Linked DNA regions of Homo sapiens: all the other regions are linked to region 1. Evidence: promoter capture Hi-C in 16 types of primary human blood cells and fetal thymus (Javierre and others, 2016). All regions are on one chromosome and are shown on one strand. The core of a region is centred on a gene start or on the middle of the fragment in contact, and the rest is flanking DNA. Distances in the headings are between cores, read along the strand shown.

The links. Contacts are between HindIII fragments. The CHiCAGO score rates a contact against its expected background, and 5 or more counts as called.
Region 2: a contact is called between the fragment with the promoter of PCDHB6 here and the fragment with the promoter of PCDHB1 in region 1, in 4 of 17 cell types (M2 macrophages, M1 macrophages, M0 macrophages and 1 more). The highest score is 7.1, in M2 macrophages.
Region 3: a contact is called between a fragment that was not itself captured here and the fragment with the promoter of PCDHB1 in region 1, in 3 of 17 cell types (M1 macrophages, M0 macrophages and endothelial precursors). The highest score is 6.5, in M1 macrophages.

Annotation. Positions count from the first base shown.
Region 1 is chr5:141,049,051-141,052,689 of GRCh38, forward strand. PCDHB1 (protocadherin beta 1) reads left to right here and starts at 2,324. Exons shown (of 1, transcript NM_013340.4): 1 at 2,324-3,639. The coding sequence starts at 2,421. PCDHB1-AS1 (PCDHB1 antisense RNA 1) reads right to left here. Exons shown (of 4, transcript NR_105056.2): 3 at 1,829-2,120. It also overlaps PCDHB@. RefSeq lists an enhancer at 1,905-2,733. The HindIII fragment of the contact is 4,524 bases long and covers 1-3,639 here.
Region 2 is chr5:141,147,619-141,151,383 of GRCh38, forward strand. PCDHB6 (protocadherin beta 6) reads left to right here and starts at 2,439. Exons shown (of 1, transcript NM_018939.4): 1 at 2,439-3,765. The coding sequence starts at 2,640. It also overlaps PCDHB@. The HindIII fragment of the contact is 6,099 bases long and covers 1-3,765 here.
Region 3 is chr5:140,934,663-140,938,308 of GRCh38, forward strand. All of the region lies in intron 1 of PCDHA1 (protocadherin alpha 1), which reads left to right. The region is part of intron 1 of PCDHA2 (protocadherin alpha 2); the gene reads left to right. The region is part of intron 1 of PCDHA3 (protocadherin alpha 3); the gene reads left to right. The region is part of intron 1 of PCDHA4 (protocadherin alpha 4); the gene reads left to right. It also overlaps PCDHA5, PCDHA6, PCDHA7, PCDHA8, PCDHA9 and PCDHA10, and 5 more genes. Among named protein-coding and RNA genes, the nearest start is that of PCDHAC1, 10 kb to the left of the region's middle. The HindIII fragment of the contact is 499 bases long and covers 1,814-2,312 here.

The DNA of each region.
Region 1 (3,639 bases), core at 1,074-3,573:
CCCCCAAAATATGTGTATACATGTGCACAAAGTGACACGTACAATGATATGCTATGAGCAGCAGAATAATAAAATAGGTAAATGCATTTTGCTGCATTCATACTGAAAAAGACAAAAGCAGTCCACGAGAGCTAGGAGCTGGCCTGACACTCACAGCTAGGACATAGTGATCTTCTGTTGAACAAAAAATGATTTCATAGGACACCAGTATCAGACAAGGCCATACCATGACTATGATGGAGCAAGAGGAAAATGAGAGCACACCATAAGTGTGTCTAAATACAGACAAAAAAGAGTATTGTCCAATCCACAAAAATGCCCAAACATCTTTCTGTCCTGGCTAGTATTAGTCACTTCAGCTTACTTACCAATCACAGAGTTAGCCTCACCCCTTTCCTCTCACCTTCTACATAAGAATTATCAATATACTCATCATAGAGTTAACTCCACTTATGATGACATCCAATCCAGAGCACTCTGCTTCAAACCTCCCCCAAATCATCTAACACAAGACCAAATATATGTTCTTTCTAACACCGTTTCACTGAGATGCTCCATGACTCTCTATGGTGTACAGCTTCCCTTGTTATAATAAGTCAGTAAATATAACTTTGTTCAACTACAGGTGTGTGTCTGATGGTCTCTAGCTAAAGGACATTGACAATATATTGGTATTTTATACGGTAATGGAAATAAATGAACTAGAGCTAAAGATAACACCAATCTTACATTGAGCTAAAAAATGAGGGAAAGAAACAAAATTCAAAGGATTACCTACTGTACACTTTACTTGATACATAGTTTTGTTTTATTTCTACTCATACTCAAGTAAGATATATAGTTTTCAAAAGAGGCAAAACTAAACTGTTTAAGGATGCACACTTAAGCCAGGTGTTAAAATAACTGACAGAGATTGAGAGATTCATTAATTCCCTCATGTCAGGATGTAATTAATGTTCTGTACACTTTCTACTTTCATTCTTTTTTTCCTATTGGAAAATATAGTTAGATTTCCGTTAAGTGGCCATAATTTTATAGCACCTGGGACATAAAGTATTGAGCACAAATGAGAAATCAAATGTTTTAGGTAATGAGCATGAGACAGCATCAGAAGACAAGTTCTAGTTCTTACACTGCCATGAGTAGCTGTATGAATTGGGCAAGTGACTTCATCACTTCGGGCCTTAGTTTCTTCATCTGTTTTTTTTTTTTTTTAAAGTGGAGAGTGGGTGAGAAGGAGACTGGATCTCATCTTTCTGAAATGTCTTATTAAACATTCTATTATCCTATGATCATAAAGGAAACTCAACAAATATCTCCTATATTTCTATTAGGTCATTTTCAATATGTGTAAGCAATCTTATTTTATTTGCTTTAAAATCCAAAACCAAATATTTATCTTCATTTGATTTATTCATTATATTATCTGGGAAGCAGAGTAGTGTACTGATTAAGAGCATAGACTTCGGAGTCAGACAAAATTAAATTGAGTTTTATTTCTAACATTTGCTAGGTAGGGGACCTTGACATAACCTCTCCCATCTCACTTTCTTTGTCTTTTTTTTTTTTTAATAATGTCTACTCCATATAGTTGTTGCAAGTATTAAATTAAATAATGCATGTAAATCACTTGTCATAGTCTCAGTACATGGAAATCATATCCAATAAATACTACTGCCATTATAATCATAAGTGACAAGCCAGCTGCTCCCTTTGTGCACGTGTATACAGATATTTGGAGGGGGGCGGAGCGAATACGTAGAAGTAGCATGATAGCGTAGTGCAAATCAAGAGGTCAGTTGGCTTAGTCCCCTGTCAGTGTACTTACTGGACCTCAAGTTTCTGAAGGAGAATGTCTGTTCCCATTCCTTTTCCTACTGACCACTTCCTCCACATTCTCTAGCTCCCTGCCTCATATATTTGGCTTGGGCTTCGGAAGACTCTGCAGGATCCTTGTGCTTCTTTCTTGGTCTCTGGATGGACCGCAGAGTGTGCAGATGTAGCTTAAACTTGTTGCTGTTCGCCCACAGCTTCAGTGGCTCCAGACAGCTAGCAGATAGAATGACTTCAGCTTGAACGACTAATCTCATTGGCTTCTCAATTCCCAAGGACTTTTTTTCCTGAAAGGGAATTAACAGGTGAGTCTGTTGTTGCTTTGGCAACAAACTTTCAACCTCTACCTAACTCTCCGGAATGAGAACATATCTATTAATACATTCGCTAGACTGGGGAGTTGAGTCGCTCAATGCAAATTTTCTTTCAAGTGCAAAACAGCTTAATGGGCTCGGCTAGCCTTTGGTGGTGCTGCAGTTAGAGGCTAGTGAAGCGGAGAGCAGCTGTTGCAGTAACCTGTTGCAGAAAAGTGAAAGTATATCCGCAACAGTTGGCTCTGATTGCAGAGAGCGCGCTTGTGAGAACTGATGGCGGGTACGCGCAGAAAATCTTTGCAAAACAGGCAAGTGGGATCTCTTCTCATTTTTCTGTGCATATCTGTGGGGGATGCGACAACTATCCGCTATTCAGTGGCAGAGGAAATGGAGAGCGGCTCGTTTGTGGCCAACGTAGCTAAGGACCTAGGACTGGAGGTAGGGAAGCTGGCTGCGCGCGGGGCGCGGCTGGTTTCCGAGGGCAACAAAATGCATTTCCGGCTCCACCGCAAGACGGGAGATTTGTTTGTGAAGGAGAAACTGGATCGGGAGTCACTTTGTGGCAAAGCCGACCCTTGTGTTCTGCACTTTGAAGTAGTCCTGGTGGAGCCGCTGCAGTCCTTCCGGGCCGAGGTCAGGGTATTTGATATCAATGACAATGCCCCAGTTTTCCTAAACAAGGAGCCGCTTTTAAAGATTCCGGAGAGCACCCCTTTGGGTTCACGTTTTCCTCTGCAGAGCGCCCAGGATCTGGACGTGGGCCTTAACGGTCTCCAGAACTACACCCTGAGTGCCAATGGGTATTTCCACCTGCACACCCGCTTCTGCAGCCACGGGCCTAAATATGCTGAGCTGGTGCTGAACAAACCCCTGGACCGAGAGGAGCAGCCTGAAGTCAACTTGACAATTACGGCGGTGGACGGCGGGTCCCCGCCTAAGTCTGGCACAGCTCACATCCACGTGGTGGTTCTGGATGTCAACGACCACGTGCCCCAGTTCTCGCGACTGGTGTACAGAGCCCAGGTATCAGAGAACAGCCCCAATGGCTCTTTGGTGGCCACGGTGACTGCCGTGGACCTAGACGAGGGCACCAACAAAGCGATAACTTACTCTTTAGCTCAAAACCCAGAAGCAATTCTCAAGACGTTTCAGATTGACCCTCAAAATGGAGAAGTTCGACTAAGAGGACCCCTCGATTTTGAAGCCATTGAAACATACGACATTGACATTCAAGCTACAGATGGTGGAGGCCTCTCTGCCCACAGCAAAGTCCTGGTAGAAGTGGTGGATGTGAATGACAATCCTCCCGAAGTGATGGTCTCCTCTGTGTCCAGCCCACTCCCTGAAGACTCACCACCACAGACAGTAGTAGCCCTTTTCACTATCAGAGACCGGGACATTCGAGTGGGAGGAAAAGTCACCTGCTTCCTCAGAGAAGACCTTCCCTTTGTAATCAAACCTACATTTGGGAATTCTTACTCACTGGTCACTG
Region 2 (3,765 bases), core at 1,189-3,688, 99 kb after region 1:
CTAACTAAATAAAATTAATTTTAACATACTTTACAATGTTCAGTCAGTTGAAATACTATTTCAGCTTGCTGGTAACAGTCCAGCTAAATTAATCTATCACTTCACTTTAGCATACATGAGCATAAAGAATATGGGGCATGGTGCTTTTTCACATTGTCTACTTTTCCATCATGTGTCCAGATGAGACCAAGGTTTTGCTCCCCAGTTAACAAAACTGAGCTTCAAAATATGATTAAGATGATTTCCAGTGAATGATGAAAATGTTCCGTATCTTGAAAAAAGTGTGAGTTACACACATGAATCCATTTGTTAAAATGGTACAGTTAAGATTGGTGCATTTCAATTTCTGTAAACATTGCCTTAAGAAAAGAACTATACAAAAGTAATCATTAAGCGGGAAGCAGAGAATGGAGAGAAAGGTATAGACAAAACAAGACAACAGAATGTTGTGAAACTGATTGTGTACAGAGGCTTATTCTGTTTACTTTGTATATGTTAGAATTTTTCCATAATAAAAATTTTAAGTTAATGAGTCCTTGTGAGAACATGTTTACGAATGCAAACTTAATTCAACTCTACTCTAGTCAATCAAATCAAAGCAAAAGAGGGCAACACAGAGAAACATTCTCCTGAAACAATCTAACGTAATCCATTTTCTATAAAAAGGCAGTTTCTTGATAGACCCAACTGATATCTTTTTGGGGTACTTTGAGCTATTATCCTCTTTCTATATAACTACCAATGTTATCAAAGACATTTCAAGGATCTAAATGGAGTTTGACAAATACTGTACTGCTGATAAATTTGCTCTGACGTAAAAAAATAATTCAACAACCTATATTCGAGGATGCCTGGTGGTGCTTCAGAGAAACAGAGTGAATAAAAGACTTTGTGGATGCCGTTAAGCTGGAATCAGAACTCAGAATGCTCACCGAAAGAAGGAAGCATTTAAGATTGAGCAGGAAATAATGGCCTTGTTTCAGCAAAGAGATGACACCAGTCCAATATGTTTATTATTGTTGGTTTATTTCATAATTTCATTTTGTTACATTCTCAAGGAACAGTGTGTTCCCAGTAGCATCTATCAAGTGAACCCTGGAGGCTGGTCACATTCATAATCTTTTGTTTTTCTGGCTACATAGAGGTGATTTTGAACTACAAGATCATCTCAGCTATTCAGAGTTTAGATTTTATTTAGCCTTATTTGTTTTGCCTAGCATTTATGTATTTGAAAATATCTTGATTTTTAATCTTCTATCACCTTGGCCCTTACCTGAAGTGAACTTTGTTTGAACTCAATTGATTTCACCTCTCAATAAATATGAAATTAATCTGAAATGAATTGAATTGTTTGGCATATTTTACCTCTTCTATGTGCACTAATCTATTTCACACATTTTCAGTTTGTTTAGAGATACATGTTCCAATGTATCTGAGTAGAAACTAGTGAGATGGGAATGGATATAGCCATAATATTCCATCATTGAATTCCATGGCATTCACTCAAATGTAACTCACCTGTTTTAACAGTACCTTAATTTGGCCTGTATTTATTGGACTTGGTGTTCTTTTTGCTGTGAGAAGACGGTGAAGGTGATTCTTGAATGTTTGTTTTCTGTGTTGCATCATGTTTGTACAACACGGTAATATATTTGGACCTTGATTAAATAATGTAAGAGGGGAATTTGATCAAAAAATAAAATGCACAAGACTGTTAAAACAATGTCTAATTCTATCCATGCAAAAATGGAGTAGAATCCTAAAATGCTTATGACAACTACTTGATTGCTTCTAGTCCCTCTTTTAAATACTTTAATTTACTTAGATACATGTATCATACGTACTTCTTGGCCTCAGTTTTCCTCCTAATAGCCTAATTGTTCTTTTTACTGTGCAGGCATAACTATATAACAAAGTAGGTTTTTTTTTTCATGCCATTTATGAGTCATATAATTTAGATAATTTATTGTTTATTTTACCATTATTGTTGCTAACAAACTTCGTTGTTTTGCATTGTTTGTTGGGACAATTAAATAGTGTACCTCTTGGACTAATAGATTAAATAGTTCATCAGAGATAAATTGCACTGCTGAAGCATCAAAGGAGAAAGACTGAAGTGTAGAATCTGCACTTCAATCTTTCTCCTTAATTAGCACCACCAGGGAATTTGATTCAAGTTCTAGAGGGGAGTGAACCCAGGAATTGGCTTAAAAACAAAAACATACACACAAAAAAACCAACGCTCGCAAGCAATTATTTATGCATGCGGTCCACGCACTCAGTTTGAGAAACACTGACTCGACTTAAAAGTCTTTATAATGCTCAGATTTCTGAAATGCTATTGACCTGAAAACATCTCATGAAGTTATTAGTTTGAACGCGTGGTGGCGGTACAAGCTAAGAGAGTGAATGAAAGCTCTGCAGACTCGGTGGACTCCGTTTCATCCAGAAGCCAAGTAAAAATACAGACCACGTTTACAGCTAAAGCTGAGATAGATGTGTCCGGGAAGGCAGTCGTCGCCAGACAAGTTGTAAGAACGAATTTAAAAATCTCTGCAAAGACATCCGAGAGGGTCGACGGTAGATGTGGTGATTGGGAGCTGAAAAGGATTTTTCTTCCGTATTCAGACATAATAGACATGATGCAAACTAAAGTACAGAACAAGAAAAGGCAAGTGGCTTTCTTCATTTTATTGATGCTTTGGGGAGAGGTGGGTTCTGAATCGATTCAGTATTCCGTATTGGAGGAGACAGAAAGTGGCACGTTTGTGGCCAACTTGACAAAGGACCTGGGACTGAGGGTGGGGGAGCTGGCTTCGCGGGGCGCTCGGGTTGTTTTCAAAGGGAACAGACAACATTTGCAGTTTGATCCACAGACCCATGATTTACTGCTAAATGAAAAACTGGACCGGGAGGAGCTGTGTGGCTCCACTGAGCCGTGTGTGCTACCTTTCCAAGTGTTACTGGAAAACCCCTTGCAGTTTTTTCAGGCTTCCTTGCGAGTCAGAGATATAAATGACCACGCCCCGGAATTCCCTGCCAGAGAAATGCTCCTGAAAATATCAGAAATTACTATGCCAGGAAAGATATTTCCTTTGAAAATGGCACACGATTTAGACACCGGCAGCAACGGCCTTCAGAGGTACACAATCAGCTCCAACCCTCACTTCCACGTTCTCACCCGCAATCGCAGCGAAGGCAGGAAGTTCCCGGAGCTGGTGCTAGACAAACCGTTGGACCGCGAGGAGCAGCCCCAACTCAGGCTAACGCTGATCGCGCTGGATGGCGGGTCTCCGCCCCGGTCAGGGACCTCCGAGATTCAGATCCAGGTTTTGGACATCAATGACAACGTCCCCGAGTTTGCTCAGGAGCTCTATGAAGCACAAGTCCCTGAGAACAACCCCCTCGGCTCTCTGGTTATTACCGTCTCAGCCAGAGATTTAGATGCAGGATCGTTTGGGAAGGTATCTTACGCCCTGTTTCAAGTCGATGACGTCAACCAACCCTTCGAAATAAACGCAATCACAGGAGAAATTCGGCTGAGAAAGGCTTTGGATTTTGAGGAAATTCAGTCTTATGACGTGGATGTTGAGGCTACAGATGGTGGAGGCCTATCAGGAAAATGCTCTTTAGTCGTCAGGGTCCTGGACGTGAATGACAATGCCCCTGAACTCACCATGTCGTTCTTCATCAGCCTCATCCCAGAAAACTTACCAGAGATCACAGTGGCAGTTTTCAGTGTTTCAGATGCAGACTCTGGACATA
Region 3 (3,646 bases), core at 813-3,312, 110 kb before region 1:
TTGTTTAGCAGTATTCAAAACAATGAATTGATTCCTGGCCATCTTACAAAAAGGACCAAGGCCTTTTTTAGGTGTCATTATGAACTCATTGACTTAAACATATTTGATATGGCCCAATCCATGTCAATTATCTTTTTAATGATCAAATTATGCTAACTTTGGCAAGTTGGGAACTGTTCAGCTTTGCTCCTGAGTCTTTGTGAGTGTGTTTGTGTATCTTGTTTTAAACCTTTTATTTTGGAATAATTATGGATTCACATAAAGTTACAAAACTAGTATAGAGAGATCCCATGTGCTTGTCACCCACTTTTCCCCAGTGATAACACCCTGAATCCTTTTCATGTGAGTCTTAATAGTCTTTTGAATGCTTCCTTGATTTCTGGTATTACAAGATGTTCAGATTATCTTGTACATTTCCTTTCCCAGAATCAGCCATTTTTCAAAGAGCTTTCACTTATTTTTAGTGAAAGATGATACTTAGAGATATAATCTCAACAACAGGTGTGCTTATTGCTGCTGGGTCAGTTGCTGTTTCTAGGTATCTTCAGCTACTGAGCTAAGGGATGTCTATTTTTTAAAAGATAAAATACATCACATGTTTATACTAATCTAATAAAGTTCAGCACTCCGAGGTTTTTACTTAACTTCATCAATCTTACATTCCTATTTCTCCCATACGTCAAATCCCAGTTTTCATTAACGTCAACAGAATTACTCATTTGTTATCCCACGGGACTCAAACAATGGACTTAGAAAACAATTTCAGCACTACAGAAATAATATGATACTGTAGCAGTTTAAGTTTTTGTCATTCTTTTCATTTATAAGGCACATCCTTACAAATGCCCAGTAGGCATGTACAGTCAAATTATTGTGTTTTAAAGTATCTTGGAAAAGTTCCTCTCTGTGTAGTTAAGCCACCAGCTAGATACAGAGCTAGGCTTTTTTCAAGTCGCTTTCAAATTTAGGGCTTGCTTTTTAAATTTTAATTTTCTTTTATAATTATGTGAAATATTTACATGGCTCCAAAATAAACTTATAAAACAAAATATATTTAGAGAAGTCTAGTATCTATTATTCCATACAATACACATTCTTCCCCACTTTGAGTTTTTTCACTTAAAAATATAAACGAGATTATTTCATAGTAGTATAGTATTTACACATATTCCATACTGCTTAATGGTGTCTTTTGATTAGCAATTAATGAGCTCCAATTTATCAATATTATCTTTTTTTTTTTTTTTTGAGACAGATTCTCATTCTGTTGCCCAGGCTGGAGTAAAGTGGTACAATCTTGGCTCACTGCAATCTCTGCCTCCCGGGTTCAAGCGATTCTCCCACCTCAGCCTCCCGAGTAGCGGGGATTACAGGCACCCACCACCACACCCGGCTAATTTTTATACTTTTAGTAGAGACAGGGTTTCACCATGTTGGCCAGGCTGGTCTCGAACTCCTGACCTTAAGTGATCTGCCCGCCTTGGCCTCCTAAAGTGCTGGGATTAGAGGCCTAAACCACCACGCCCAGCCAAAGTTGTCTTTTTTATTTAGTATTCTTTCTATCCTTTTAAAGAAAACATATCCTGCTTCAAGTCATGAAGATATATTCCTGTGTTTTCTTCTATAACATTGCTATCCAATAGAACTTTCTGACATGCTATAAATTTTCTCTATCTGCATATATGGAATGTGTAGCTACTGAGCACTTGAAATGTGGCTAGTGAAACTGGGCTACTCAATTTTTAATGTTACTAATTTTAATTAATTTAAGCTTAAATAACCACATCTGTTTAGTGGTTGCTGTAGTTCTGGAAGCTTTCTTGTTTTAACTTGCACATTTAGATCTTAAATTACCTGAAATTGCTTTTGAATATAGTGCAATGTAGAAGTCAAGATTTATATTTTCCACTTGTAAATCCAGTTAGATTGCCTACTTTCCTCGCTGCTACTGTGCAGTGCTACCTTTGTCATAAGCAACGTGACTTTATATATTCTGTTTCTGGACTGTCTATTCTGTTTCATTGGTCAACTTGTCTATTCTTGTGCCAATACATTCTGTGTTAAATATAGTAACTTTTCATTTGTATTGATATCTAATTGTGTAAGTTCTCTCACTTTGTTATTCTGCTTCAAGATTAACTTAGCTATTTTTGGCCCTTTGCATTTCTATATAAATTGTAGATTCAGCTTCTCAGTTTCTATTTTAAAAAACCCTGCTTTGATTTTAATTGGCACTATATTGAATCTGTAGAAAATATGGGGTATATTGAAAATATCTTATTTTGATCTTTATTGAATCTATAAAAATATGAAGCTTGTTAACATTGACAATATTGAGACAGACAACCGATTAACAAGGTATATTCTTCCATTTATCTTTTTTTTTTTTTTTTGAGACGGAGTCTCGCTCTGTCGCCCAGGCTGGAGTGCAGTGGCGCAGTCTCGGCTCACTGCAAGCTCCGCCTCCCGGGTTCATGCCATTCTCCTGCCTCAGCCTCCCGAGTAGCTGGGACTACAGGCGCCCGCCACCATGCCCGGCTAATTTTTTGTATTTTTTGTAGAGACGGGGTTTCACCGTGTTAGCCAGGATGGTCTCGATCTCCTGACCTCGTGATTCACCCGCTTCGGCCTCCCAAAGTGCTGGGATTACAGGCGTGAGCCACCGCGCCCGGCTTCTTCCATTTATTTTATTATTTTATCTTAATGTTTATGTGTGTGTATGTGTATATAGGGGTATTGCACAACTTTTATTAGATAGCTGATATTTTAATGCTATTTTAAAAGTTTAATTTTATAATACAAAAATTAGCTGGACATGTTGGCACATACCCGTAATCCCAGCTACTCAGGAGGCTGAGGCAGGAGAATTGCTTGAACCTGCGAGGCAGAGGTTGCAGTGAGCTGGGATCGCGTCACTGCACTCTAGCCTGGGCAACAGAGTGATACTCCATCTAAAAAGAAAAAGAAAGGCAGGGCATGGTGGCTCACGCCTGTAATCCCAGCACTTTGGGAGGCTGAGGCAGGCGGATCACGAGGTCAGGAGATCAAGACCATCCTGGCTAACACGGTGAAACCCCGTCTCTACTAAAAATACAAAAAATTAGTCGGGCGTGGTGGCGGGCGTATGTAGTCCCAGCTACTCGGGAAGCTGAGGCAGGAGAATGGCATGAACCTGGAAGGCGGAACTTGGAGTGAGCCGAGATCGCGCCACTGCACTCCAGCCTGGGCGACAGAGTGAGACTCCGTCTCAAAAAAAAAAAAAAAAGTTTAATTTGATAATTGGCTTTTGTTGAAAGTATATAGAAATAATACTGATTTTATGTTAACTTTGTATCCAATGTTCTTGCTAAATAGTAAAATCTCATATTTTTATATTTTGGGTTTTCTACATATACTGTCATGCTATTCCCAAATAATGTTAGTTTTATTATTGTATTTTTTACTTTCTCTCTTTTTTTAAAAAAATAGAGATAGAGTCTCACTACATTGCCCAGGCTAGTCTGGAGCTCCTGGGCTCAAGCAATCCTCCCACGCCAGCCTCCCAAAGTGCTGGGATTACAGGCATAGGCCACCATGCCTGGTCTTTTAAAAACTTTCTAATCACATAGTTTTCTTGCTTTCTGTCATTGCCTATGAAATTCAGTAT